4 separate regions of the Homo sapiens genome follow, and regions 2, 3 and 4 are each linked to region 1. The links are contacts of gene promoters, found by promoter capture Hi-C in human tissues and cell types (Jung and others, 2019). All regions are on one chromosome and are shown on one strand. The core of a region is centred on a gene start or on the middle of the fragment in contact, and the rest is flanking DNA. Distances in the headings are between cores, read along the strand shown.

Region 1 (7,032 bases), core at 3,294-5,793:
GAAACCAGGCCTTACCCTCCCTCCAGATCTGTGGAGGGTGTGGGCTAGGGTCACATGACCTGCCTGGTGCCACACATTCCCAGATGGCAGTCAGGGGTCCTCGCTGGTGCTGCTGGACATGAGCAGACTCTGGCCCCATGTTTAAGATCCCAGTGCCATTGGGCGTTGGCTCACGCCTGTAATCTCAGTGCTTTGGGAGGCCAAGGCAGAAGGATCACTTGAGTCCACGAGTTGGAGACCAGCCGGCACAACACAACAAGACCCCATCTCTATAAAAAATAATAAAAAAGGGCCAGGTGCGGTGGCTCATGCCTGTAATCCCAGCACTTAGGGAGGCTGAGGCAGGCAGATCACGAGGTCAGGAGGTCGAGACAACCTGGCCAACATGGTGAAACCCCGTCTCTACTAAAAATACAAAAAATTAGCCAGGCGTCGTGGTAGGCGCCTGTAATCCCAGCTACTCGGGAGGCTGAGGCAGGAGAATTGCTTGAAATCGGAAGGCAGAGTTTGCAGTGACCCAAGATTGCGCCACAGCACTCCAGCCTGGGCAACAAGAGCAAAACCTCCGTCTGGAAAAAAAATAAAAAAAATAAAAAAATAAATAAACAAGATAATAAAAGAACCTGGCTCTTGTCCACAGTCATTAACAGTGACAGTCTTGGGAGACATTTAAACAGCTCTGAGTGTGCACAGAACAAAAACCAGGTTAATTTAGTTAAGCAACTGTATAGAGCACCCTTGATATAAGTGACCTCATCTGAGAAAAGGACTCCATCTTATGTATTTTTTTTTGAGATGGAGTTTTGCTCGTTGCCCAGGCTGGAGTGCAGAGGTGGAGCCATCTCAGCTCACTGCAACCTCCGCCTCCCGGGTTCAAGTGATTCTCCTGCCTCAGCCTCCCGAGTAGCTGGGAGTACAGGTGCACGCCACCACGCCCAGTTAATCTTTGTATTTTTGGTAGAGATGGGGTTTCACCATGTTGGCCAGACTGGTCTCGAACTCCTGACCTCAAGTGATCTGCCGTCTTGGCCTCCCAAAGTGCTAGGATTAGAGGTGTGAGCCATAGCACCTGGCCCCTGATGCCTTTTAAATTATAAGATAGGGCCAGGCAGGCGGAAGTTGCAGTGAGCCAAGGTGGCACCACTACTGCACTCCATCCTGGGCAACAAGAGTGTAACTCCACCTCAAAAAAAAAAAAAAAAAAAAAAAAAGGGTATCAGGCCAACAGGGACCAGATGTTTCCTCATCAGTAGATACTGCACCCACCCAGATAAAGACATAAACAAGACACTCTTACTATCAGTCCTTACCAGAGTACTCTATGGCCATGAAAAGAGCAGAACACCACCAGGTCAAAGTGGCCGTTTTACAGACAGTCTTGCTGTCACTTGTGAGAAGCCCTCCACATCTGCTGCTGCAGGCTCTGCCCACATCAGAGATGCTTCCTTGCCAGATTCTCCTTTTCGTTGAACTGGTTAACTTTTTTTCCTCTCCTCTTTCTCTTGATGTGGAATGTTTATAACATTTATGCAGTGGTCAAGTATACTATTATGTATGGTTTGTAATACTGACTGACTTAAGGAGAGACTTGAGCCTGTGTGCCCACAGCTGTGACTGCCAAGTGAATGGGAAGCACTAAGAATTGCCTCCTCGGGATCTCTAGTAGTATACATAACATGCTCCAGAGGGCATGGATTTGTCAGACTTTTTTTTTAAATAGGGTTTTTAAGAACAGTTTTAGATTTAGAGTAATTGAGAAGATAGTACATGGAGATCCCACATACCACATGTGTGGCTTCCCCTCTTATTAACATCTTACCTTAGTGTGCTACATATGTTATATATATATATATTTTTTTTGAGACAGAGTCTCGCTGCGACGCCCAGGCTAGAGTGCAATGGTGCAATCTTGGCTCACTGCAACCTCTGCTTCCCAGTTTCAAGCGATTCTTCTGCCTCAGCCTCTCGAGTAGCTGGGACTACAGGTACGTGCCATCATGCCCAGCTAATTTTTGAGTGAAAGCCAGTGCACCTGGCCCATTTGTTATGATTAATGAACCAATATTGAGACACAAGTAACTGAAGTCCACACTTTGACAGTTTCCTTAGGTTTGCCTCATGTCCCTAATGTGGTATCCATCAGAACACCCCATTACATTGAGTTATGTGTCTTTAGGCTCCTTCTCAGACTTTCCTCGTTTTTGATGACCTTGACAGTTTCGAAGAGTACTGGGCAGATATTTTGAAGAATGTCCCTCAATTAAAATGTGTCTATTATCTCCTGGTTAGACTGGGACTGCAGGTTACAGAAAGGAAGCATCTAGGGGTGAAGTGCCACTGTCACCCCATCACATCAGGGACACACACTGTCACCTCGACTATAACTGTGAGGCTGACCTGCGTCACTTGGCTGAGGTGGAGTCTGCCAGTTTTCTCCACAATAAAGTGGCTCTTTCCCTCCTTTTCTTTATTGCACTCTTTGGGAGGAAGTGGCTATGTGTGGTCTACACTTAAGGAGAGGGGAGTTACGTTTCCCTCCTTGAGGGTGAGTATCTACAAAATTTATCTGGGCAGCTTTTTTTTTTTTTTTTTTTTGAGTTAGGGTCTCAGTCTGTCACCCAGGTTGGAGTGCAGTGGTTGCCTGGCCTTGACAGCTTTTTAATAGTTTAAAATGAATTGAGGCTGGGCGAGGTTGCTCATGCCTGTAACTCCAGCACTTTGAGAGGCCAAGGCAGGTGGATCACTTGAGCCCAGGAGTTCAAGACCAGCCTGGGCAACACAGTGAGACCCTGTGTCTACTAAAAATACAAAAATTAGCTGGGCATGGTGGTGTGCCTGTAATTCCAGCTGCTCAGGAGGCTGACATGGAGAATCACCTGAGCCCGGGGAAGTTGAGGCTGCAATGAGCGGTGGTCTCACCACTGCACTCTAGCCTGTGTGACAGACTGAGACCCTGCCTATAAAAAAGAAAAGAAAAAAGAACTGAAATAAGACCCAAGTCCAACATTAGCAGAACCTCTCTAGGATGTCCACAGAAACGACTCTGGGGTTCTGAGGAACACAGTCTAGGCAAACCTGGGCACATCCCCTCAGTCCCACAGTTGTAAATGTATTGTAACACGTAACAGTTGTGAGATTCAGGCGCGGTCTGGGTCTCTGTTCCTGGAAAGTGTGATCCTGTGGGTGCAGCCCCTGCTCGCTTGGCTGTGTTGCCTGCCTGGCCCCTGCTCTAATGAGCCCACTGCCCAGAGTTTGCTCAAACCACCCAATTCCGAGTCTGGGAACCAGGAGACCGCTGGACACCCCGCTCACCACACAGAAGACTGTGGCCTGAGTCAGGAGAAGGAAGTTTCTGGCGGTCGAGCTTCCACGGCTTCCTGAGGGAGGTTGCAGGGAGCCGAGATCGCGCCATTGCGCTATAGCCTGGGCGTCGCAGCGAGACTGTCTCAAAAAAAGAAAAAAAATTCTGAGCGAGATTCCAGGGCTTCCTGAGGGCGCGTTTAAGTTGCAGTTGCTGAGGAGGCTGCAAGGTGAGCTTGCGTCAGCGAGGAGCCACTCCAGCACGCTCGGGAAGGGCATCGTTACTGCTGCAAACAAGCACACGGCCCTCCACGACGAACCTTTTGCAAGTGAAGGCGCACGAACAGGCCCGGAGGACTACAAAGAAACCCAGAAACCAGACTTGGACACATGAAATAAAGGGGTTAGCTGAAGGAATACTCCACAGTTAAGGACGGCCTGCGCGAGGTCACCGGCCCTGTCTTGGTTTTTTGCCACTTCGCTCCAGTTAGTTTCCCAAGTTCCACCTACGCGCGCGCCAGCTGAGAAAACGCCCACCCCGGCGGTCCCGCCACAGGTCACAGGCGGTGCGGACCCCGGGACTGTGTCCGGGCTTCGGTGTCCAGAGAGCTCCAAGACACCCAAACCTTCCGTGGTTTCCACCTCTGCAAGCTTATGTTCCGCTGAGCTCAAGCTGAGGGACGACGACCTCATGCGACGTCAGTTTCCCCCTGGGACCACGAACCCACGGCCCCATTTCTCTTCTGTCTACTAAAAACCTTTTCTTTTCTTTTTTTTTTGAGACCTAAGACATCAGTGAGACACACGAGCAGACACGGGCTCGGTCGGGAAAGGCGGGAGCTCCAAGCGGCGGGGCCTGCAGGTCCAGGCGGTTCGCGGGCTTTCTGACCGCATTCGGCCGAGTTCTTCTCTGAAGACCCAGGACCCCCGGCCGAGGGGGCGCATTCGGCGGGCTGGTGGCGTAGGATTTTGTTTCGGGTTCCCAGGGTCCCGGCAAGGGTGAGGGAGCCCTTGCGGATCCCCTGAGATCCACCTCAGCAGCCTCCTCCGTGGTAGGCCTCAACTTCCCGCGGCGGCCCACAGCCAACGACTAATGCCTGAGCGGGAGAAAACGGCCTGGCCCTGTCCGGGTGGTTGCTGAGCACCGTTCGGCGCCGCCCGCGCCTGCAGGGAGCCCGGCCCGCTGTCCTGGTGGACACAAAGCCCAGGGGCCGCCCGCGCGGGACCAGCAGCGCGAACTTTTTGCCGCTCGGCCAGCCTGGCAGGGGATTTTAAAATCGGCCAATCACAGCGGGCGCCAGGCCTCCGCTTTCCGCTTACTGGTCCTGCCGTAGGAGGCGGGTACGTGAGCGCACCAATCTGTGGCCGGCGAGCGTAAAGGGCGGGGCTCCGCCCAGGCTGCACCGCCCAGAGCGCGCGTGCGCGAGACCGGAAACGCAGCCCCCTGATTGGCGGCGCGTGTCGGGGGCGGGGCCGCGGCTGCGTGACAGTTGTCGCGGGGGGAGGGCGAGCCCAAGCGCGGGGGAGGGAGTGTAAATAGAGCGAAGGCTGCTCTGTGTCAGCCCCGTCACCGCCGGGCGGCCCGCGCGGAGTCTGAGGGAGATGGAAGTTGAGCAAGAGCAGCGGCGCAGAAAGGTGGAGGCCGGGAGGACGAAGGTAAACATTAGGGGCTTCTTCTCTAGCTGCTCTGGCGTGAAGTCCTAAGGGCGGCTCCGGTGCCCGCCACCGCCCCCTGCCAGGAGAGGACGCGGTCCGGCGGAAGCCGCCGCGGAGGTCTCGCTTTTTCCCGCCGGCTCCGCTGGAAGCCGCCTCCTGGCCGCCGCCATCTTGAATCCGCCGCTCTCCGCCAGGTCCCGCCCCCGCCGCGGCCACAGCCAATCAGCGGCCGGGACGCGCGGCGCCTCTCGGGCGGGCCGGGGCGGGGCTGCGCCTGCGTCGGGGGGGGTGGGGCGCGGGCTGGGCGCGGTGCACGCCGGGGCGGGGTGTGGCTGCAGGGCGGGGCTACAGGGGCGTGGCGTGGCTGCACGGAGGGGGTGGGGCGCGGCAGGCGCTGGACCCCAGGCTGGATCTTCCAGTGGCTCCCGCGTCCTCCGGGACCGGGTGGCCTGGGGCGGGCGGCCGGTATTCGGGTGGCTGCTTGGTCTAGGGCCAGTTTCCTGCGCGGCCGGGGCCGGGGGCGTGGCGCGGGTGGCCTGCAGCGCCTCCCCAGGGTGCGCCTTCGCCTCGTCCGTCGGAGATGCTTTCCCCGCGCGTTTCTCGCGGCGTTGCAGTCCTTACTGTGTGAAAGGCCCCCGCGGCGCTCCCGGCCGCCGTCTTCTTCCCGCGCCCTTGGGCTCGCGTCCTGCCCGTCCGGGCCTGGCGTACGCTGCCGGGAACCCACGCGGCGCTGGCGCCGGGCGCCTTCAAGGGACGCGCTCCCGTCTTTCTCCCGCCCCGGGTTTCTCCGTGAAAAAGCGCTCGGTTTGATGGCCACTGTCCTAGGTTTCGTGGGAATAAAGCGCGCAGAGCCCATGACTCGGGGGCAGGAGAAAGGGAGTCCCGAAAGCGCGAGGCGGAACCGCGGGAGCAGGCCGGCCTCTGCGAGGTGCGCGCCGCTCCCCCCCAGGATGTTCTGGCTGGGGTGCTGGGGAAGAGCGGGGCTCCCGGGCACGGCGGACAGGGGACGCGGGGCTAGGCCGGGGAAGGGCTGAGGCGGGCAGGAGGGGAAGGGGAGCCCGGAGCCTGCAGGGAGCTGCGAACAGGAGCAGAGCTCCCAGGAGGGTGGAGGGGGGAGGGAGGGACAAGACGCCGCCTGTAGGGCGACGCAGGCCGCAGACCAGGTCTGTGCTATATCCCGACATGGATAGGTGTGGTGGAGGAGGACATGAAAATAAACGACATGAGGTTGACTTTGAAGGAAATATTTCCTTGAGAGACCATTTTCTTGTGTAAATGGCCTTGTGTAATTTTTCTGGGTCCATGAGCTTGTGTACTTGTGTTATCATTTACACAAATGTGTGTTCCATGCGTTTGTTTTTGTGGCCACAGTTGTCTTTTGAGGGAACAGATGTCTCCCCGTGAAAGGCTGATGTGGGATCGATCGCATACCTCTTGAGTAAGACGTTAGCGGGAGATGAGGCTCGCACATAGTCTCAAACTCTCGGATTTGAGGACTGAGCAGAGCTAGGCTGTGCCTTCTGATGGGCGATGCTCTGTGGATGTCCCTGGTGCTTTGGTGAGCTGTGTCATGAAAAATAGAACATCTGATTCCATAAAGGAAGATGTGAGATTGACCTGGCTTAATTAATTTTTTGCTATTTCTGTATCTTGTCTCAGAATCTATGGCTAGGAAGTTTTGGCTGGGCTATATATTTCTTCAGTTGGGGGAAAATTGGGGCAAGAAGGGAGAGATTTAGCTTTTATATCATTTTAAAACTTAAATATGCCTTGATTAAGCTATCAATCTTTTATACAAATTTTTTTTAAAGTTTTATTTTTCTGTAAACTGCCAAGGGCTAGGAAAGCTATTCTGCCAATCAGCCGTATGGTTTTCTTTACCAGGCATAATTAGCAGTCCTCATTGTTAGACCCCTTGGATATAGATATTGATGAAGGCAGTGTTTGTGGAGAGCCATCTGTTGGCCAGGTGTGGCAGAGTAGACTGGGTCAGCCCTCGGGCCTCATGGTCCCCACCAGTCTGTTGACTTTGTGGTTCTGTTATTTTTTTCTCACTTACCTTTGCCTTTACTACTT
Region 2 (7,032 bases), core at 4,533-7,032, 290 kb after region 1:
TTTAATTGGCATATTTAGATAATTGCTGTTCAAAGTAATTATTGATATAGTTGAATTAATATCTACCATATTTTTCACTGTTTTCTATTTGATGCCCTTGGTCTTGTTTTTGTCTTCCACACTTTTTCTGCCTTTTGTGGTTTTAAGTGAGCATTTTATATGATTCAGTTTTTCTTCTTTCTTAGCATATCAATTAATACTTCTTAAAAAATATTTTTAAGCGTTGCCTTAGAGTTTTTAATGTATGTTTACAGCTAATCCAAGTACACTTTCAAATTACACTATTATCACTTCTTGGATAGTGCAAGAACCTTATAATAACAAAAATGAGATTTACCATCACTATTCATTCTCTGGTGCTCTTCCTTTCTTCATATAGACCTGAGTTTCTTTTTTAAAAATGTTTAAGTTCAGGGGTATATGTGTGGGTTTATTATATAAGTAAACTTGTGTCATGGAGGTTTGTTGTACAGATTATTTTGTCATCCAGGTATTAAGCCTAGTACCCATTCATTATTTTCCTGATTCTCTCCCTCCTCTCACCTTCCACCCTCCAGTAAGCCCCAGTGTCTGTTTTTCCCCTCTATGTGTCCATGTGTTCTCATCATTTAGCTCCCACTTATAAGTGAGAATATGTGGTATTTGGTTTTCTGTTCCTGCATTAGTTTGCTTACGATAGTTTTTGCCTATATTCCTGCAAAGGACATGTTCTTGTTCTTTTTTATGCTTGCATAATATTTCGTGGTGTATATGTACCACATTTTCTTTACCGAGTCTACCACTGACGGGCATTTAGGTTGACTCCATGCCTTTGCTACCGTGAATAGTGCTGTAATGAACATCCACATGCATGTGTCATTATGATAGAATGATTTATATTCGTTTGGGTATAGACCCAGTAACAGGATTGCTGGGTTGAGTGGTAATTCTGTTTTTATGTCTTTAAGGAATCACCACACTGTTTTCCACAATGGTTGAACTAATTTACATTCCCGCCAACGGTGTACAAGCATTCCTTTTTCTCCGTAACCTTGGCAGCACCTGTTATTTTTTTACTTTTGTTTTGTTTTGTTTTTTGAGACGGAGTCTCGTTCTGGCTGGAGTGCAGTGACTCAATTTTGGTGCAGCCCAGGCTGGAGTGCAGTGACTCAATTTTTGCTCACTGCAACCTCCACCTCTTGGGTTCAAGCAATTCTCCTGCCTCAGCCTCCTGAGTAGCTGGGATTACAGGCACATGCCACCACGCCCGGCTAATTTTTGTATTTGTTTAATAGAGATGGGGTTTCACCATGTTGACCAGGCTGGTCTTGATCTCCTAACTCAGGTGATCCGCCCACCTCGGCCTCCCAAAGTGCTGGGATTACAGGTGTGAGCCACCGTGCCTGGCTATTTTTTGACCTTTTAATAGTAGCCATTCTGACTGCTGGGAGGTGGTATCTCACTGTGGTTTTGATTTGCATTTCTCTGACAGTCATCAGTGATGTTGAGTTGTTTTTCACATGCTTTTTGGCCACATGTATGTCTTCTTTTGAAAAGGGTCTGTTCATGTCCTTTACCCACTTTTTAATGGGATTGGGTTTGTGTGTGTGTGTAGATTTGTTTAAGTTCCTTATAGATGCTGGATATCAAATCTTTGTCAGAGGCGTGGTTTGCGAAAATTTTCTCCCATTCTGTTTACTTTGTTGATAGTTTTTGTGTGTGTGTGTGTGTGCTGTGTAGAAGCTCTTTCGTTTAATTAAATAGATCACATTTGTCAGTTTTTGCTTTTGTTGCAATTGCTTTTGGTGTCTTTATCACGAAATATTTGCCCATTCCTATGTCCTTAATGGTATTACCTAGGTTGTCTTCCAGGGTTTTTATAGTTTTGGATTTTACATGTAAATATTTCTGTATGTTGATTGTCGTTCACAAACAGGGTTAGTCTGACTTCCTCTCTTTCTATTTAGATGCCCTTTATTTCTTTCTTTTGCCTGATTGCTGTGGCCAGGACTTCCAATACTATTTTGAATAGGAGTGGTGAGAAAGGGCATCCTTGTCTTGTGCCAGTTTTCGAGGGGAGTGCTTCCAGCTTTTGCCCATTTAGTATGATGTTGGCTGTGGGTTTGTCATAGATGGCTTGTATTATTTTGAGGTATGTTCCTTCAATATCTAGTTTATTGAGAGTTTTTAACATGAAATGGTGTTGAATTTTATCAAAAGGCATTTCAGCATCTATTGAGATGATCATGTGGTTTTTGTCTTTAGTTCTGTTTGTTTGATAAATCACATTTATTGATTTGCCTGTGTTGATCTAACCTTGCATCCCAGGGATAAAGCCTCCTTGATCATGGTGGATAAGCTTTTTGATGTGCTGCTGGATTCAGTTTGCTAGTATTTTGTTGAGGATTTTTGCATCAATGTTCATCAAGGATTTTGGCCTAAAGTTTTTTTTTTCTTGTTGTGTCTCTGCCAGATTTTGGTATTATGATGATACTGGCCTCATAGAATGAGTTAGGGAGGAGTCCCCCCTTCTCAATTTTTTGGAATAGGTTCAGCAGGAATGGTACTAGCTCTTCTTTATACTTCTGGTAGAATACAGCTGTGAATCCATCTGGTCCTGGACTTTTTTTGGTTGGTAGCCTATTTATTCCTGATTCAATTTCAGAGCTTGTTATTGATCTGTTCAGGGAATCAATTTATTTCTGGTTCAGTCTTGGGAGGGTGTATATATCCAGGAATGTATCCATTTCTTCCGTATTTTCTAGTTTGCATAGAGGTGTTCATAATATTCTCTGATGGTTATTTGTACTTCTGTAGGGTTAGTGGTAATATCCCCTTTGTCATTTCTGATTGTGTTTATTTGGATCTTCTCTCTCTTCTTCTTTATTAGTCTAGCTAGTGGTCTATTTTATTAATTTTTTTAAAAAACCAACCCCTGGATTTGTTGATCTTTTGGATGGTTTTTTGTGTCTCAGTCTCCTTCAGTTCAGCTCTGATTTTGGTTATATCTTGTCTTCTGCTAGTTTTGGGGTTGATTTGCTCTTGGTTCTCTAGTTCTTTTAGTTGCGGTGTTAGGTTGTTTGATTGCAAGCATTCTAACTTTTTGATGTGGACATTTATTGCTAAAAATTTCCCTCTTAACACTGCCTTAGCTGTGTCCAAGAGAGTCTAGTATGTTGTACCTTTGTTTTTATTAGTTTCAAAGAACTTCTTGATTTCTGCCTTAATTTCTTTATTTACCCAAAGGTCATTCAGGAGCAGGTTATTCAATTTTCATATAATTGCATGGTTTTGAGCAATTTTCTTTCTTTCTTTTTCTTTTTTTGAGATGGAGTTTTAGTCCATCACCCAGGCTGGAGTGCAGAGAGGCAATCTCGGCTCACTGCAACCTCCACCTCCTGGGTTCAAGCAATCTTCCCACCTCAGCCTCCTGAGTAGCTGGGATTACAGGCATGTGCCACCATACCTGGCTCATTTTTGTATTTTTAGTAGAGACAGGGTTTCACCATGTTGGACAGGCTGGTCTTAAACTTTTGACCTAAAGTGATCCATCCGCCTCAGCTTCCCAAAGTGTTGAGATTATAGGCGTAAGCCACCCCACCTGGCCTTGAGCAATTTTCTTGTGCTGTGGTCCAAGAGAGTGGTTGTTATGATTTTAGTTCTTTTGCACTTGCTGAGGAGTGTTTTATGTCTTATTATGTGGTTGATTTTAGAGTATGTGCATGTGGTGATGACAAGAATGTCTATTCTGTTGCTTTAGGGTGGAGAGTTCTGTAGATGTCTATCAGGTCCATTTACTCCAGTGCTGAGTTTAGGTCCTGAATATCTTTGGTAATTTTCTGCCTCAATGATCTGTCTAGTACTGTCAGCAGGGTGTTGAAGTCTCCCACTATTATTGTGTGGGAGTGTTAAGTCTCTTTGAAGTGCTCTAAGAACTTGCTTTATGAATCTGGGTGCTCCTGTGCTTGGTATAGATATGTGTGTGTGTGTGTGTGTATATATATATATATATATATATATTTAGGATAGTTAGGTCTTCCTGTTGAACTGAACCCTTTAGCATTTTGTATGCCCTTCTTTGTCTTTTTTGAGTTTTGTTGGTTTAAAATCTTTTTTGCCTGAAATTAGGATTGCAACTCCTACTTTTTTCAGTTTTCCATTTGCTTGGTAGATTTTTACCCATCCCTTTATTTTGAGCCAGTGGGTGTCACTGCATGTGAGATGGGTTTCTTGATGACAGCATACTATTGGGTCTTGGTTCTTTATTGAGCTTGCCACTCTGAGTCCTTTAAGTGGGGATTTAGCCCATTTACATTCAAGGTTAGTATTAATATGTGTGGATTTGATCCTGTCATCATGATGTTAGCTTAGACCTGAGTTTCTAAAATATCATTTTTCCTTTCTCTGGAGAACTTCTTTTAACATTTCTTCAGATTTATTAGCAACAATGTTTGTTTGTCTTAGAAAGTCTATTTCTCCTTTACTTTTGAAGGACAGTTTTGCAGACCGCAGAATTCTAGGTTGGTGGGTGTATTAGTCTGTTCTTACACTGCTAATAAAGACATACCTGAGACTGGGTAATTTATAAAGGAAAGAGGTTTAATTGACTCACAGTTTAGCATGGCTGGGGAGGCCTCAGGAAACTTACAACCATGGCAGAAGGGGAAGCAAACACATCCTTCTTCACATGGAGGCAGCAAGGAGAAGTGCCGAACAAAAGAGGAAAAAGCCCCTTATAAAACCTTCAGATCTCATGAGAACTCACTCACTATCTTGAGAACAGCAGCGTGGAGGTAACTGCCCCCTATGATTTAATTACTTCCCACCAGGTCCTTCCCATGACACATGGGGATTACAATACAAGATGAGATATGGGTGGGAACACAGCCAAACCATATCAGAGGGTTTATTTTTACAACACTTTAAATATAACCATGTGTCATGTAACAACATTTTGGTCAATGGCAGATTGCATATGCGATGGTAGCCTCATAGATTATAATGGAACTGAAAAATTTCTATTGCCTAGTGATGTTGTAGCCATCAAAACATTGTAGTGCAATGCATTACTCATGTGTCTGTGGTTATAGTGGTATAAACAAACCTACTGTGCTACCAGTCACATAAAAGTATAGTACATCAAATTATGTACGATACGTAATACTTGACAATGATCATAAATGACCATCTTACTGGTTTATGTATTTACTATACAATACATTTTATTATTTTAGATGGTACTCTTTCTATCTATCTATCTATCTATCTATCTATCTATCTATCTATCTATCATCTATCTATCTATCTATGTAAAGTTAGTTAACAGTTAGTTACCAGTAAAATAGCCTCGAGCAGGTCCTTTGGGACATATTCTAGAACAAGGTGCCGTTATCATAGAGAATGACAGCTCCATATGTCTCATTGTCCTTGAAGACCTTCCAGGGGGAAAAGATGTGATGTAGAGGTGGAAGACAGTGATATTGATGGTTCTGACCTGTGTAGGCTTAGGCTAATGTGTTTGTGTTTCAGTTAAAAAAAGAGTTTAAAAAGTAAAAAATTTAAAAATTGTTAAAAATGGAAACAAGCTTATAGATTAAAGATATAAAGAAAGAAAATATTTTTGTATAGCTATACGATGTGTTTGTATTTTAAGCTAAGTGTTATTACAAATGAGTCAATGAGAAAAAAAGTTTATAAAGTAAATAAGTTATGGTAAGCTAAGTTTAATTTATTATTGAAGAAAGAATAATTTTGTTTTGTTTTTGTTTTTGTGACAGAGTCTTGCTCAGTTGCCCAGGCTGGAGTGCAGTGGTGCAATCTTGGCTCACTACAACCTCCACCTCCCAAATTCAAGCGATTCTCCTGCCTCAGCCTCCCAAGCAGCTGGGATTACAAGCATGCGCAACCAAACCTGGCTAATTTTTGTATTTTTAGTAGAGACGGGGTTTGACCATGTTGGCCAGTCTGGTCTCGAACTCCTGACCTCAAGTGATCCACCCACCTCGGCCTCCCAAAGTGCTGAGATTACAGACTTAAACCACCATGCCCGGCAAGGATATTTTAAATATTTTAAAATAAATTTAATGTATGACTGGCTGCAGAGGCTTAAGCTTCTAATCCTAGCACCTTGGGAGGCCGAGGCAGGAAGATTGCTTGAGTTCAGAACAGCCTGGAGTTCAAGAACAGCCTGGGCAATGCAGCGAGACCTTGTCTCTAAAATAAATAAATAAATAAATTTAGCACAGCTTAAGTGTACAGTGCTTATAAGCCTACAGTAGAGTACAGTGGTGCTTATAAGTCTGCAGTAGAGTACAGTAATGCTTGCAAGCCTACAGTAGAGTACAGAAATGCTTATAAGTCTGCAGTAGAGTACAGTAATGTCCTGGGCATTCACACTCACTCACCACTCAAGCACTAACTCACCCAGAACAACTTCCAGTTCTGCAAACTCTGTTCATCGTAAATGCCTTATATGGGTATATCATTAAAAATCTTTTATATCATATTTTTACTGTACTGTTTCTATGTTTAGACATAAAAATACTTACTATTGTGTTTCATTGCCTACGGTATCCAGTAGTAACATATTGGACAAGTTTGTAACCTAGAAGCAACAGGCTGTATCATACAGCCTAGGTATATAGCAGGCTGTACCAGCTAGGTTTGTGTAACTGCACTGTATGATGTTTGCGTAAGGACAAAATTGCCTAATGAAACATTTCTCAGTATGTATCCCCATCATTAAGTGATATATGACTCTATTTCATTCCATCTTCTTCTCGCTTGCATAGTTTTTCAGGAGAAGTTAGATGTAATTTTTATCTTGCTTCTCTATGGTAACGTGTTTATTTTCTCTGGTTTCTTTTGAGATTTTTCCTTTAACTATGATTTTGTGAAGCTTGAATGTGATATGCCTAGTTTTGGGGGAAGGGCATTTATCCTATTTGTGTTCTCTGAGCTTCCTGGAGCTGTGATTTGGTGTCTCACATTAATCTTGGGGAAATTCTCAGTCATTATTGCTTCACATATTGCTTCTGTTCCTTTCTCTCTTTC
Region 3 (7,032 bases), core at 1,753-4,252, 270 kb after region 1:
ATGTCCCTGCTCAGGAATCCTTGGGTATTAGAGAAGCTGAGGCCTTTTCCACTCTCTGCCTTGCACAGTCAACTCTTGAGTGAGGGGGCTGGTACACCCAGAGGATGGTCACAATTCCTCTAGAGGTATAATCTAGGCAGACAGTGCTGTCTTGCTGATCTGGTGTTATTAACTTCCCTGAGGAAAAAAATCACCTGAATTCTTGTTTGATCAGTCTCACAGCTAAAAACCCCAGGGAGTCATGGTCCCACTTCAGACCTGGGGGGCCTGGTACTTGGGATATGTAGCAAGATCCCAGCAGAGTTTTGTGCAGTGAGCTGTAGGGGGCCATGGGACCCAATATGCCCTCTGCAGTGTCCCCCACCCCCTCACAGAAGAGGAAAAGTTCAGGAGTGGCCTCCTGAACACCTGAGACGCACCTCAGGGATCTGTATTTTAAATTAGGGGTGCTGGGGTAAGAAGACATAAGAAAAGCTCCTTCTAGCCCAGCCAAGTCTGGCCTCCTTCCTGCAAGGTTTAGATCCTGGGGGCTTTGGGCTATTTTCCTGAGAAGAATGCCAACCTCATCCTCAGCTCTCTGCTCAACATCCAGCCCTGTGTAAAAGCTCTAGGCTTGCCTCATGCTAACTTGCTTGAATAATGTGTATTTTCTGCACTCCTTCAGAGAGAGGCCAGCCCTTTTCTCCCTAAATGCAGTGAAAGGAGGTTGTGCCATTGTCTTGCCTGCCAGGTTGCTGGTGGACATGGCTGTAAGGGTCATAATTAAGGGGGGTCTCAGGACAGAGAGGCCAGGCATCCCTTGTGCTCACCCACCTGGTCCCCAAGGCAGCCCAGTTCTTGGTAAAGAAATACTGCCAGGCAATAGCTGGGCTCTTGTGGGACAGGGCTAGTGGAACCTACTTGGGTGTCTCCATTGCGAGCAGAACGTAATAGCTGTGTGTAGAAGGTCCCACTGGATGAAGGGCCAGTGGAACCTTCCTCTGATGCCCAAACACTTCCATCTATCTGCAATTACAAAAATCTGATTTGTGTCTGCACAAGATAAGGGTGGAATCCCTAAATTTAAGAACCCCAAAACAAAAGCAAACAAACCAAGGTGTCTCCCACAACTTCCTACGAAGTTTCCAAACTCTCTCCAGGGTCTTGGCTGGGGGCATGTGGGTTCAAGGGCCCCCATTTTGCCTTGGAGACCAGGATGGGGCCTCACAGGGCAGAGCTGCAGGGAACAGTAATGGGCCCATGGGCTCACAGGGTGTCATGCTGTGGAGACAAACTGCCCATAGTGGAGATACCCAAGTAGGGCCCCAGCCAGCCTGGGGGAAATTTGATTCCCTTGTTGGTTGCAAGAGGAGCAGGGTCTGGCTGAACAGGCCTGGGGCCCTGCAGAGGTGGGGATCTGGAACAGTAGACAAGAGAGAGCCAGAGCTTGACAGAGGGCCAGGGGAGCCCAGGATCACCAACTCTCCACTTCCGTCCTCACTGCTCCCTTTCCCCAGGCAGGGGCATGGGGTCAGGAGGGCACATAGTCCAGGGCTTGAGAGCCCAATAGCCTTCCTGCTGTCTCTGTCCCTGCTGGTGGGTACAGGTGGGGTATGTCCAGATACTGCCTGGGGGCCCAAGGCCTTACCCCCCGCAATCCAATTATTAGATGATGATTCCTCCTTTTGGTGGCAGGAAAGTCTGGCAATTGTGTTGCTTGTACTTCTGGCAGGGACAGCAGCCCCTGTAGAGGATGGTCCGCAGCGTCCAGAGATGGTGGGTTCCTGCAGCCCAACTTCTCAACAGCACCTTCTCACTGCAAGTCAACAAATGGGGTCCTCAGCTTGGCCCCAGGGTCTCCACCCTGAGAGACCAACACTGCTGGCAGGGCCAGATTTGCGAAGTGGCTGTGGCCCAGAATCTTGTGGATCAAACGGAGAAATTGATGGAGCACAGAAAATTTCTGTGGCTGAACTGGCCATGGAAATGGCAGCCTGGGCAACAGGTTCATGAAAACAGACTTTTCACACCTGGTCCTGCTCTCCAGGCCTGAGCGAACTCCATGTGTTCCTGGTCAAAGCTGGGGGCGGGTTTCCCCCACCCCCTTGCCCGGGCCCATCCCCTGTCCACCTGGGGATGCTGGAGGCAGCCTTTGGGGTAGGCCAGGCCTGTGCTGGCCACCAAGCTGTGGCGACTACCACCACCCACTCATGGAACTGGAAGGTGCCTCTGGGTGAGGGCGGGCCACACTCAGCTAGGGATTGCCAGGAGAGGACGGTTGGCATTTACAGCCTGGAACTAACGGCAGTTGATTGGATAAGTCCCCCCAGACCCCCTTTGGATGGTGGAGGAGCCCCCGTGTGCTCAGAAGCTGCCCTGGGAATCCCTGAGGGATGGTGCTGGAGCCAAGCTCCTTGGAGGACCAATGTTCTCCCTATCTGGTTTGGAAGCAGAGTAGGCTTCTGGGGACTTAGTCACTTTAGGATTCTTGGATCAGTGTGGGCAAAAGAGGCTCTGGAAGGGCCGATTCAACTTCCGGCCGAGGCGGCAGAGCATCCTCTGGGGAGGAATGCAGGTGGGAGGCGGGCACCCGAGCCAAGGGCAGCCCAGAGCTGCCCCCCGGCAGCAGCGCCCCTCCCGCCCCCCAACTTAAGGTCGCACCCTGGGCCTCCCAAGCTTGGTCTCCTGCCCGCCAGCCCAGAGCATGCACCAGGACCAGCTTTGCAGGGCCCGGTGCGAAATGAAAACATCGCCCTTTGGCCAAAAGTAACCACGAATTTCCAGAAGGCGAGAGCTGAGCGAGAAGTGAGCACAGGGCCCTGGGGACTCCCCAGGTGGCTAGATGTGAAGTGGCCTCGCTGGGTCCCCTCCGGCCTCTCCCAGGCCCCTCTCACCAACCCATCTCTCGGCCATCACAGCTGTGGTTCCTACCTCTGCCCCACCCAGCCTCGGGCCCTGCGAGCCTCCGGGCCTCCCACACTGCCTGGGACAGGCAGGACTTCCTGTTTTACCCGCTACTGTTCAGAAGGCACAGAGGGACCCTGAGGAACGTGAGCTTTCTGAGATGGAGGCCAAGGACCACGGGGAGCGCAGTGAACACCGGGAATGGGGCTGGTGGCCCAGCATGCATTGTGGAAAGGCACGTGACTGCCCGGGACCATTGGCAGCTCCCCTTCCTGGTGATTGGCTTAGGGAAGAACATGTGACCCAACAGGCCGGAAGTCCCCTGTGGAGTGGCTGGACGCCCCCGGGGAAGCCTCCCCCTAGCGGGGGCAGAAGGGAAGCCGCGTTTTTTGCTTGCGTTGCCTTTTGATGGCGCTGGATCGCTGTTGCTGCGCTTTTTTTTTTTTTGAGAAGGAGTCTTGCTCTGTCGCCCAGGCTGGAGTGCAGTGGCGCGATTTCGGCTCACTGCAACCTCCACCTCCCGGGTTCAAGCGATTCTCCTGCCTCAGCCTCCCAAGTAGCTGGGAATATAGGCACGCGCCACCACGCCAGGCTACTTTTTGTATTTTTGGTAGAGACGGGGTTTCACCATGTTGGTCAGGCTGGTCTCCAACTCCTGACCTTGTGATCCACCTGCCTCGGCCTCCCAAGCTGCGCTCTTTTTATTGAACGCAGGCCCTCGCGGTGGCTCAGAGCCCCCGGTAGTGCCCTCGGAAGCCGCATGTGCTGGAGGCACGTTGGAGGCAAGGATCCTGCAGCCGCGACTTGAATCGCATGGGTCACGGAGGCCACGCTGGAGCCCCCAGAGCTGGCTCGGATTGCGAGTTCTGATGGAGTTGCTTTTTCCAGGAGCGCTGCCAGCGCTGAGCGTTCACCTGGTGATCAGGCGCATCCCGGGAAGCAGGCCGAAGCCACCACGCCCTTGCAGGGCCACACCGGCCAACCAGCTGTTATCTGCATGGATGAGGAACGCATTTAAAGAACAGCAGTGTTTTCAAATAATGCTGGATAAGGCTTTGTTTTTTAAAGGTAGTGGAAGTTTTAAGGGTGCCCCGGGGTAATTTCTGTAGTCAGGGTTCCCTCCGGGTTAGGGTCTACACGGCCATGGCGGGCTGCACGGTGCACGCTTTATCACTGAGACCTGACTCCTAAGTTACTGTTAACAAGAGTCCCTGGGGCCAGTCAGCTTACACACAGGCCTAATATAGCAGAAAGAATGATGCAGGCCGTTAAAACAGCCTTTGGAAAGAGGTTTTCAATTTTTCAATCACAAAGCAAATCAAGCTTCCTAATTAGCTACAACACGGCTGGAAAGCTCAGCTCCTACTAGGCTGCAAGCCCTTGCTGTCTGCTTTCTTGCATGACCGTCTCTGTTACAGGAAAGGTTTGGCTGCTTTCTAATCTCACTCATGTTCAAAGAACTCGTGGCAGGCAGTAGTAACCATGGCAACAAAGGCCATGAATTCCTGGAAGTCACATTCGCCGTCTCCATCATTGTCCAGTGTTTCCATGACTTTGTCCACAACCTCCTGCTCTTTGATTTCCTAAGAGAGATAAAAGGAGTTGCCGACCTTGTTTTTAAATGGAATTTTGGACCATCAAAACATGATTAAAAGTTGAGTGACTCTGATAATTTGTGTCCGAAATAACCTAAGAACATCAAATGCAAAATATCAGAAAAGATGTCTCATGTGACCAGGGGGCTGTTGTCCAAGCAGAAATCTCTGGGGGTCAGTGTCTGGCCCTGAGCTACTGGAAAAGGCTGAATGGAACAGCCAAGAGGTGAAAAACTGAAGGTTGTTATCATACTTAAAATACCTGAAAAAAAAAAATACCATCTAGATCAGCCTGAGCAAATGTCTTGAAATAAAAATAAACTTTTGGCCCTCCTAAACTTTTCGTGTGTTCTGTGTGTGGAAGTCCCTGTCTCAAAGGCTTCCAGTGGAATTTAATGTTTTGAAAGTCTTCTTTGTTGCTGAAGTAACTCTTGGGAACGTGGCCTACATTTGTTAACCCTGTATTCTTTTTCCCACTTGAATTGCTTTCTAGGTGTCATGAAACTTTTTCCTGACAGTTCTGCCTGACATTGAAGCCAAATGAATGGTGTGGCTGTTAAGTGATGTGCACAGCCTCAGAGGAACAACCACAGTGCAGGGCTACAAACGTGGTGGGAAAAATTTGGGTATTGAACACTGATGAAGAGCATAAATGCAGAGTAACAATTCTCCGGGATAGGAAGGCTTGGCCTGAAGAAGTCAAGTGTAATGTACAACAGCTGCCTTGGCTATAAGACACACAGGGGTCAGGCACGGTGGCTCACACCTGTAATCCCAGCACTTTGGGAAGCTAAGGCAGGAGGATAACTTGAGCACAGGAAGTTTGAGACCAGCCTGGGCAACATAGGGAGACTCCATCTCTACAAAGAAAAAATAAAACAATTAGCTGGGCATGGTCCATGTGCCCGTATTCCCAGCTACTCAGGAGGCTGAGGCGGAGGATCGCTTGAGCCTGGGAGGTTGAGGCTGCAATGAGCCAAGATTGCACCACTGCACTCCAACCTGGGTGACTGAGCAAGACCTTATCTCAAAAACTAAAAAAGTAAACAAAACATACAGAAGATTGTAACTCCACGGGGGTAGAGGTGGGGAGGCACCTGTGGATGGGCAGGAGCAGGGCACTAACTTCAATTATATTATACATCTGCTTCCGAACTGAAATTACCTTGATAAAACAGGGCAGCAAATGTTTGTGATGCCTTGAAATGCTTACCATGAATTATTTATCATTTACAAATTGAAATTCCCAAGTGCAAAGCTTTTTCTATGTATAAAAATAATAATAGTAGCTACTATTAGTTGAGCTTTCACTATATGTTAAGCACTTAAGCACTGTCCCGCTTCACCCTCACAACAGCCCTTGTTCAGAAGAAGAACCTGGGACTCTCAGATCAAGTCAGAAGGCAAGATTGGTGGAACTAGAAAACTGCATGTGTGAGTGGGACTGCTGTCACTCTGTCGGCTTGAATGCCTGAGAAAACCAGTCCTGGAATCAGATGTGGGGACACCCTCTGCAAAGTTTCAGGCCTGTCTGCTCCACTCTGAACCATTCACGGTGGGGCAGTGTTTGGTGGGAGTGGGGACAGGAGAACCAGCCAGCGCCCCCTCCCCCTGCCCTGAAAACACGGACTGCCGTGCTGCTGGAGCCAGGGCTTGCCGTCTTGCACTGAGAGGCTTGGCCAGCTCAGGAGGGCAGCTCCCCGTCCCCATGCAGCAGAGCCCTGCCCTGGTATTTATCCTGGAATAGGGCTTGGTGAGACACTAGTGCGCTGGCTCATTGTCTGGTCATTTATCCCGTTTGTGATTGCTCATATCAGTGACCCAGGAAGCCCTTCACTACGTTTCATATGTGCACACCACTGGTGCTTCACTCTGGCTCAAGGCGTGCCTCAAGCCAGCCTTGGTTCTAAGAGAGCATCAGGTACCAGGGGGATCACAGTTCACTTCCATGAGGGCATGAGGTGGGCAGTAAAGACAGGTGGGTCTGATCCAAGGACAGTGGAGACGGTGGGTAGGAAAATGAGCCCTAATGCAAGGGTCTGGACATACTTCCACCACAAGCCACAGCGGGAACTGCCTGAAGAACAGGGCTTGCCAGGAGCCCCCACACAGCTTCCTAAAGTAGGGGCCCCAACTAAAGACAGTTCCTCACCAATATCCGTTACTCCACAGAGCCTCCTGCAAAGCCCCAGGGCTTCCAAAGGATGTGTACAGACCCCTGTCACGTCCTCAGTTAAGCCAGTCATGGTCATTCATCCATGTGCCAGGCTGGGTGCCCCAGAGCAGAAGCCATGTCTGTCGTGCCTGCATATCTCACAGTTCTTAATTAGTGCTCAGTCAGTGTTTACTGAGTGAAAGTCTGGCATATCTTATCTCCATAGCAAATACTAAACTTCTAGCTAAAGCCAAAATATATCCTTTTCCTAAAAACATTCCCAAAGCTTATTTTTAACAGTTTCCTTTTATGTTCCCTTTGGTCCATGGTAAGTAATGAGTCTAGCATTATTTGGGACGCTTTGGCCTTTGGGACCTTGATGCACCTACTGTACACAAG
Region 4 (7,032 bases), core at 1,725-4,224, 260 kb after region 1:
TCTGCCTTGTCTGTTGGTGTATAGAAATGCTTGTCACTTTTGCACATTGATTTTGTATCCTGAGACTTTGCTGAAGTTGCTTATCAGTTTAAGAAGCTTTTGGAGGCTGGGCGTGGTGGCTCACACCTGTAATCCCAGCACTTTAGGAGGCCGAGGTGGGTGGATCACGAGGTCAAGAGATCAAGACCATCCTGGCCAACATGGTGAAATCCTGTCTCTAGTAAAAATACAAAAATTAGCCAGGCGTGGTGGTGTGTGCCTGTAGTCCCAGCTACTCAGGAGGCTGAGGCAGGAGAATTGCTTGAACCTGGGAGGCGGTGGTTGCAGTGAGCCAAGATTGTGCCACTGCACTCCAGCCTGGCAACAGAGCAAGACTCCGTCTCAAAAAACAAACAAACAAAAACAACGACAACAAAAAAAACCTTTTGGGCTGAGACAATGGGGTTTTCTGGATATAGGATCATGTCATCTGTGAACAGAGGCAGTTTGACTTCCTCTCTTCCTATTTGAATATCCATTATTTCTTTCTCTTGCCTGATTCCCTTGCTAGAACTTCCAATGTTATGTTGAATAGGAGTGGTGAGAGGGGGCATCCTTGTCTTGTGCCAGTTTTCAAGGGGAATGCTTCCAGCTTTTGCTCATTCGGTATGAAATTGGCTGTGGATCTGTCATAAGTGGCTGTTATTATTTTGAGGCATATTCCTTCAATATCCAGTTTATTGAAAGTATTAATGTGAAGGGATGTTGAATTTTATTGAAGGCCTTTTCTGTGTCTATTGATATAATCATGTGGTTTTCATCTTTTGTTCCATTTATGTGATGAATTATGTTTATTGATTTGCATATGTTGAACCAGCCTTGCATCCCAGGGATGAGGCCACCTTGATCATGGTAGGATAAGCTTTTTGATGTGCTGCTGGATTTGGTTTGCCAGTATTTTATTGAGAATTTTTGCATGAATGTTCATCAGTCATATTGGTCTGAAGTTTTGTTTTTTTGTTTTATCTCTGCCAGGTTTTGGTATCGGGATGATGCTCGTCTCATAAAATGAGTTAGGGAGGATTCCCTCCTTTTCTATTGTTTGGAATAGTTTCAGAAGAAATGGAACCAGCTCCTCTTTGTACCTCTGGTAGAATTCAGCTGTAAATCCTTCTGGTCCTGGGTTTTTTTTGGTTGGTAGGCTATTTCTTACTGCCTCAATTTCAGGACTTATTATTGGTTTATTCAGAGATTCAACTTCTTTGTGGTTCAGTCTTAGGAGGGTCTTTGTATTCAGGAATTTATCAGTTTCTTCTACATTTTCTAGTTCATGTGCATAGAGATGTTTATAGTATTCTCTGATGGTTGTTTGTATTTCCGTAGGGTCAGTGGTGATATTCTCTTTATCATTTTCATTGTGTCCATTTGATTCTTTTCACTTTTCTTTGTCTAGCTAGCAGTCTATCTATTTTATTAATTTTTTTCAAAAAGCCAGCTCCTGGATTCGTTGATTTTTTTTGAAGGGTTTTTCACGTCTCTGTTTCCTTCAGTTCTGCTCTGATCTTGGTTATTTCTTGTCTTCTGCTAGCTTTGGGGTTTGTTTGCTCTTGGTTCTCTAGTTCTTTTAGTTGTGATGTTAGGATGTCAATTGGAGATCCTCCTAGCTTTTTGAAGTGGGCATTTAGTGCTATAAATTTTCCTCTTAATGCTGCTTTAGCTGCATCCCAGAGATTCTGGTATATTGTCTCTTTGTTCTCATTAGTTTCAAATAAGTTCTTGATTTGTGCCTTAATTTTATTGTTTACCCAGGAGTCATTCAGGAGGAGGTTGTTCAGTTTCCATGTAGTTGTGTGGTTTTGAGTGAGCTTCTTAATCTTGAGTTCCATTTTGATTCTGCTGTGGTCTGAAAGACTGTTATAATTTCAGTTCTTTTGAATTTGCTGAGGAGGGTTTTACTTCCAATTATGTGATCAGTTTTAGAGTAAGTGCCATGTGGTGCCAAGAAGAATGTATATTCTGTTGCTTTTGAGTGGAAAGTTCTGTAGATATCTATCAGGTCTACTTAATCCAGAGCTGAGTTCAAGTTCTGAATATCTTTGTTAATTTTCTCTCTTGATGATCTAACTAATATTGACAGTGGGGTGTTAAAGTCTCCCGCTATTATTGTGTGAGAGTCTAAGTCTCTTTGTAGGTCTCTAAAAACTTGTTTTATAAATCTGGGTGCTCCTGTATTGGCTGCGTATATATTTAGGACAGTTAGCTCTTCTTGTTGAATTGAACCTTTTACCATTGTGTAATGCCCTTCTTTTTTTTAATCTTTGTTGGTTGAAGATTTGTTTTGTCAGAAACTAGTATTGCAACCCTTGTTTTTTTCTGTTTTCCATTTGCTTGGTAAATTTTCCTCCACTTCTTTATTTTGAGCCTCATGTGTCTTTGCATGTGAGAGGGGTTTCTTGAATACAGCACACTGATGGGTCTTAACTGTTTATCCAGCTTGCCATTCTGTGTCTTTTAATTGGGACATTTAGTTCATTTACATTTAAAGTTAGTATGGTTATGTGTGAATTTGATCCTGTCATCATAATGCTAGCTGGTTATTTTGCAGACTTATTAATGTAGTTGCTTCACAGTGTCACTGGTCTGTGTACTTCAGTGTCTTTTTGTACAGGCTGGTAATAGTTTTTCCTTTCCATATTTCATGCTATCTTCAGGAGCTCCTGCAAGGCAGGCCTGGTAGTGATGAATTCCTCAGCATTTGCTTGTCTGAAAAGGATTTTATTTCTCCTTCATTTATGAATCTTAATTTGACCATATATAAAATTCTGGGTTGGAAATTCTTTTCTTTAAGAATGTTGAATATGGCCTCCAATCTCTTCTGGTTTGTAGGGTTTCCACTGAGAATTCTGTTGTTAGTCTGATGGACTTCCCTTTGTAGGTGTCCTGGCCTTTCTCTCTGGCTGCCCTTAACATTTTTTCCTTCATTTTGACCTTGAGGAATCTGATGATTATGTGTCTTGGGGCTGATCTTCTCATGGAGTATTTTACTGGGGTTCTCTGGATTTCCTGAATTTGAATGTTGGCCTGTCTTGCTGGTTTGGGTAAGTTCTCCTGGATGATATCCTGAAGTATGCTTTCCAACTTGGTGCCATTCTCCCCATCTCTTCCAGGTACCCCAATCAGTTGTAGGTTCAGTCTTTTTACATAATCTCATAGATCTCAGAAGTTTTGTTCATTCCTTTTCATTCTTTTTTCTTTAATCTTGTCTGCCTGTCTTATTTAAGCAAGATAGTCTTCAAGCTCTGAGATTCTTTGTTCCACTTGGTCTATTTGGCTATTGATATTTGTGGTTGCATTGTGAAGTTCTCAAGTTGTGTTTTTCAGCTCCATCAGATCATTTATGTTCCTCTGTAAACTGGTTATTCTGGTTAACAGCTCTTGTAATGTTTTATCATGGTTCTTAGCTCCTTTGCACTGGGTTAGAACATAACTCCTTTAGCTCAATGGAGTTCGTTATTACCCACATTCTGAAGCCTACTTCTGTCAGTTCATCCATCTCAGCCTCTGTCCAGTTCTGTGCCCTTGCTGGAGAGGTGTTTCAGTCATTCGAAGGAGAAGAGGCACTCTGGCTTTTTGAGTTTTCAGCGTTTTTGCATTGATTTTTTTCTCATCTTTGTGAGCTTGTCTACCTTTGATCTTTGAGGCTGCTGACCTTTGGATGGGGTTTTGTGGGGTCTTTTTTTGTTGATGTTGTTGTTGCTTTCTTTCTTTTAACAGCTAGGCCCCTCTTCTGTAGGGTTGCTGCAGTTTGCTGGGGGTCTACTCCAGACCCTATTCACCTGGATCCCTCCTGCACCTGGAAGTGTCACCAGTGGAGGCTGTAGAACACCAAAGATGGCTGCCTGATCCTTCCTCTGGGAGCTCAATCTCAGAGGGACACCAACCTGATGCTGGTGGGAACGCTCCCGTATAAGATTCCTGACAACCCATGTTGGGGGATCTCACCCAGTCAGGAGGCTTGGGATCCGAGGCCTGCTTAAAGAAGCAGTCTGGCTGCCCCTTGGTGGAGTGGGTGCACTGCACTGGAGGGACTCCTCTTTGTCCAAACTGCCCAGCCTCTTCAGAACCAGCAGGCAGGAAAGATTATGTCTACTGAGTTGTGGAGATCACAGCTGCCCATCCCCCTAAGGACTCCATTCCAGGGAGATCAGAGTTCTGTTTGTAAACCTCTGGCTGGAGTTGCTGAAATTCCCACAGGGAGGCCCTGCCCATTGACGGGGAATGGATCTGGGTCCCACCTAAAGCAGCAGTCTAGCCATGATCTGCCACAGCCACTGTGCTGTGCTGTGGGAAATTCCTCCTGGTTCAAACTACCCAGTCTTCCCCGCACCAGCAGAGGAAAACGGCAGACTGGAGCTGCAGTGATGGTGGCCGCCCCTCCCCCTAGGTACTCAGTTGTCTTAGGCAGTCTCTAGCCAGCTGCCACTAGCTGCAACCTGAGCATCTGGACAGCTCTGTACTTGGGACCCAAGGCTCTGGTGGTTTGGGCTCATGAGGGGATTTCCTGATCTGTGAGTTGCACAGATCTGTGGAAAAAACATGGTTTTCCAGGCAGGTAGCACAATCAGTCACTGCCTCCCTTGGCTGGGGATGGGAGCTCCTCTTGCCCCATGGTGCTCCTGAGTGGTCCATCGCTCCACCCTGCTTTTCCCGACTCTCCATGGGTTGTGCCAACCACCTAGTCAGTCTCAATGAGAGAACCTGGGTACCTCAGCTGAAGGTGCAGGATTCACTCACCATTTTCATTCTTCTCAGTGGGAGCCACCAATGGCAGCTGCTTCTAGTAGGCCATCTTTCCACTTTGCTGGTAATTTTTTTAACAACCAAGTGAATATGCCAAATGGTAACTTGGATCCACAGAAAAAGCAAAGAGAACCAGTAAAGGTAAAGATAATTATATAATGGTAAGACTATAAATGCATTTTTCCTTAACATGAATGAATTAAACAGTTTATTAAAAAGGCAGAGATTGTCAGAAAACCTGTGTAAAAACAAGCAAACAAACAAAAACAAAAAATAAGACCCAACTATATGCTGTCCACAGGAGATACACCTTTTATTCAAAGATACAAATAGACTGACAGTAAAAGGATGAGAAAAGGTACATCATTCAAACAGCAGCCACAAGAAAGCTGGAGTGGCTATACTAATCTCATACAAAATAGACATAACAAAAAATTCCTAGAGACATTTTATAACTATAGAAGGGTCAATCTATCAGGAAAAGCTAACAATTACAAATATGTATGCACCCAACAACAAAACACTACAATACACAAAGCACACAACTGACAGAAATAAGAGTTGGAGACTTCAATGTCTCACTTTCTATAATGAATAACCAAGCAGAAAATCAACTAGGAAATAAAAGATATAACATTATAAACAACTAGACCTAACAAACATCTATAAAACACTCCACACAACAAGAAAGTATACATTCTTCTCAACTGCACATAGAACATTCTCTAGAACACACCACCATATGCTAGGCTATAAAGCAAACCTCTCTAAATTTAAAAGGATATAATACATAAATTATGTTCTCCTACACAATAGAATGAAATTAGGAATTGATATAGTTTGAATTTTTGTTCACTCCAAAACTCATACTAAAAGTTAATTCCCATTTTGAAGGTGTCGGGAGGTGGGAACTTTAAGAGGTGTTTGGGTCATGAGGGTTATGTGCTCATTAATGGGTTAATGCCATTATCACAGAAATGTGTTCATTATCACAGGAGGAGTACTGTTATAAAAGGGCAGGTCTGGCCTCCCCTTGCTCTCTCTTGCCTTTCCACCTCCCACCATGGGATGATGCAGCACAAGGGTCCTGCCAGATGCTGCCCCCTCATTCTTCGATTTCCCAGCCTCCAGAGCTGTGCTAAATAAATTTCTGTTCATTATTAAATACCCAGTCTTAAGTATTTTGTTATAGCAGGACAAATTGGAATAAGACAGAAATCAACAGGAAAAAATTTGGAAAACTCCCAAGCATATGGAAATTGAGCAGCACTCTACTAAATAACCAATGGATCAGAGGAAAACAAAAGGGAAATAAAAAAATACCCTGACATAAATGAAAATGAAGACACAACATATCAAAATTTATGGAATGAAGCTGAAGCAGTGTTAAATGTCTAGCTGCACATGCGTATAATAAGAAAGAAGAAAAATTTCAAATCATTAACCTAGTTTTATCCTGGAAAAAGAAGAGTAAACTAAACCTAAAGAAAGCAGAAGAAAGAAAAGATAAATATTAGAATGGAAATTAATGAAACAGATATTGAAAAGCACAAGAGAAAAACAATAAAACCAAAAACTGAAAAGATTTTTAAAAATTAACAAAACTGTAGCTAGGCTAAGAAAAAAGAGAAGACTCAAATTACTAGAATCAGAAATAAAAAAGGGCATTACTACAGATCTTACAGAAATAACAAAGGATGATAAAGAAGTAGTATGAACAATCGCATGCCAATACATTAGGTAACTTAGATGAAATGGATACATTCCTAGAAAGACACAAACTACCAAACCCCACTTAAGATCAGGCAATCTGAACAGACTTATAACAAGCAAAAATACTGAATAAGCAGTAAAACACCATACCCACCCAGACGGCTTCACCACTAAATTTTACTAAATATTTGAAAAATATTTGAAGAAAAATTAATATCAAATCTTCACTATATATATATATATATATATATATATATATATATATATATTTTTTTTTTTTTTTCTTTTCTTTTCTTGAGATGGAGTCTCGCTCTGTCACCCAGGATGGAGTGCAGTGGCACAATCTTGGCTCACTGCAAGCTCCACCTCCCGGGTTCACACCATTCTCCTGCCTCAGCCTCCTAACAGGGACTACAGGCATGCACCACCACGCCCAGCTAATTTTTTGTATTTTTAGTAGAGATGGGGTTTCACTGTGTTAGCCAGGATGGTCTCGATCTCCTGACCTCATGATCCACCCGCCTCGGCCTCCCAAAGTGC

The links. Contacts are between HindIII fragments. The study calls those that stand out against the background at their distance.
Region 2: a fragment that was not itself captured here is called in contact with the fragment with the promoter of C21orf58 in region 1 in 5 of the 25 tissues and cell types used here (H1 embryonic stem cells, dorsolateral prefrontal cortex, hippocampus and 2 more).
Region 3: a fragment that was not itself captured here is called in contact with the fragment with the promoter of C21orf58 in region 1 in 9 of the 25 tissues and cell types used here (IMR-90 fibroblasts, aorta, dorsolateral prefrontal cortex and 6 more).
Region 4: a contact is called between a fragment that was not itself captured here and the fragment with the promoter of C21orf58 in region 1, in 3 of the 25 tissues and cell types used here (dorsolateral prefrontal cortex, mesenchymal stem cells and mesendoderm cells).

Annotation. Positions count from the first base shown.
Region 1 is chr21:46,319,327-46,326,358 of GRCh38, forward strand. C21orf58 (chromosome 21 open reading frame 58) reads right to left here and starts at 4,544. Exons shown (of 8, transcript NM_058180.5): 1 at 3,313-4,544. The coding sequence starts at 3,412. PCNT (pericentrin) reads left to right here and starts at 4,830. Exons shown (of 47, transcript NM_006031.6): 1 at 4,830-4,956. The coding sequence starts at 4,903. It overlaps LOC128092249, which reads left to right and starts at 6,962. Exons shown (of 1, transcript NM_001414902.1): 1 at 6,962-7,032. The coding sequence starts at 6,962. RefSeq lists enhancers at 1-213, 4,073-4,212 and silencers at 1,819-2,081, 4,563-4,892, 5,163-5,622. The HindIII fragment of the contact is 24,092 bases long and covers 1,727-7,032 here.
Region 2 is chr21:46,612,548-46,619,579 of GRCh38, forward strand. No RefSeq gene overlaps it. Among named protein-coding and RNA genes, the nearest start is that of S100B, 11 kb to the left of the region's middle. The HindIII fragment of the contact is 3,662 bases long and covers 3,952-7,032 here.
Region 3 is chr21:46,595,038-46,602,069 of GRCh38, forward strand. S100B (S100 calcium binding protein B) reads right to left here. Exons shown (of 3, transcript NM_006272.3): 3 at 3,567-4,466. The coding sequence ends at 4,326. Among named protein-coding and RNA genes, the nearest start is that of S100B, 6.5 kb to the right of the region's middle. The HindIII fragment of the contact is 6,650 bases long and covers 1-6,327 here.
Region 4 is chr21:46,577,928-46,584,959 of GRCh38, forward strand. It overlaps a transcript of DIP2A not described here. Among named protein-coding and RNA genes, the nearest start is that of S100B, 24 kb to the right of the region's middle. The HindIII fragment of the contact is 8,435 bases long and covers 1-7,032 here.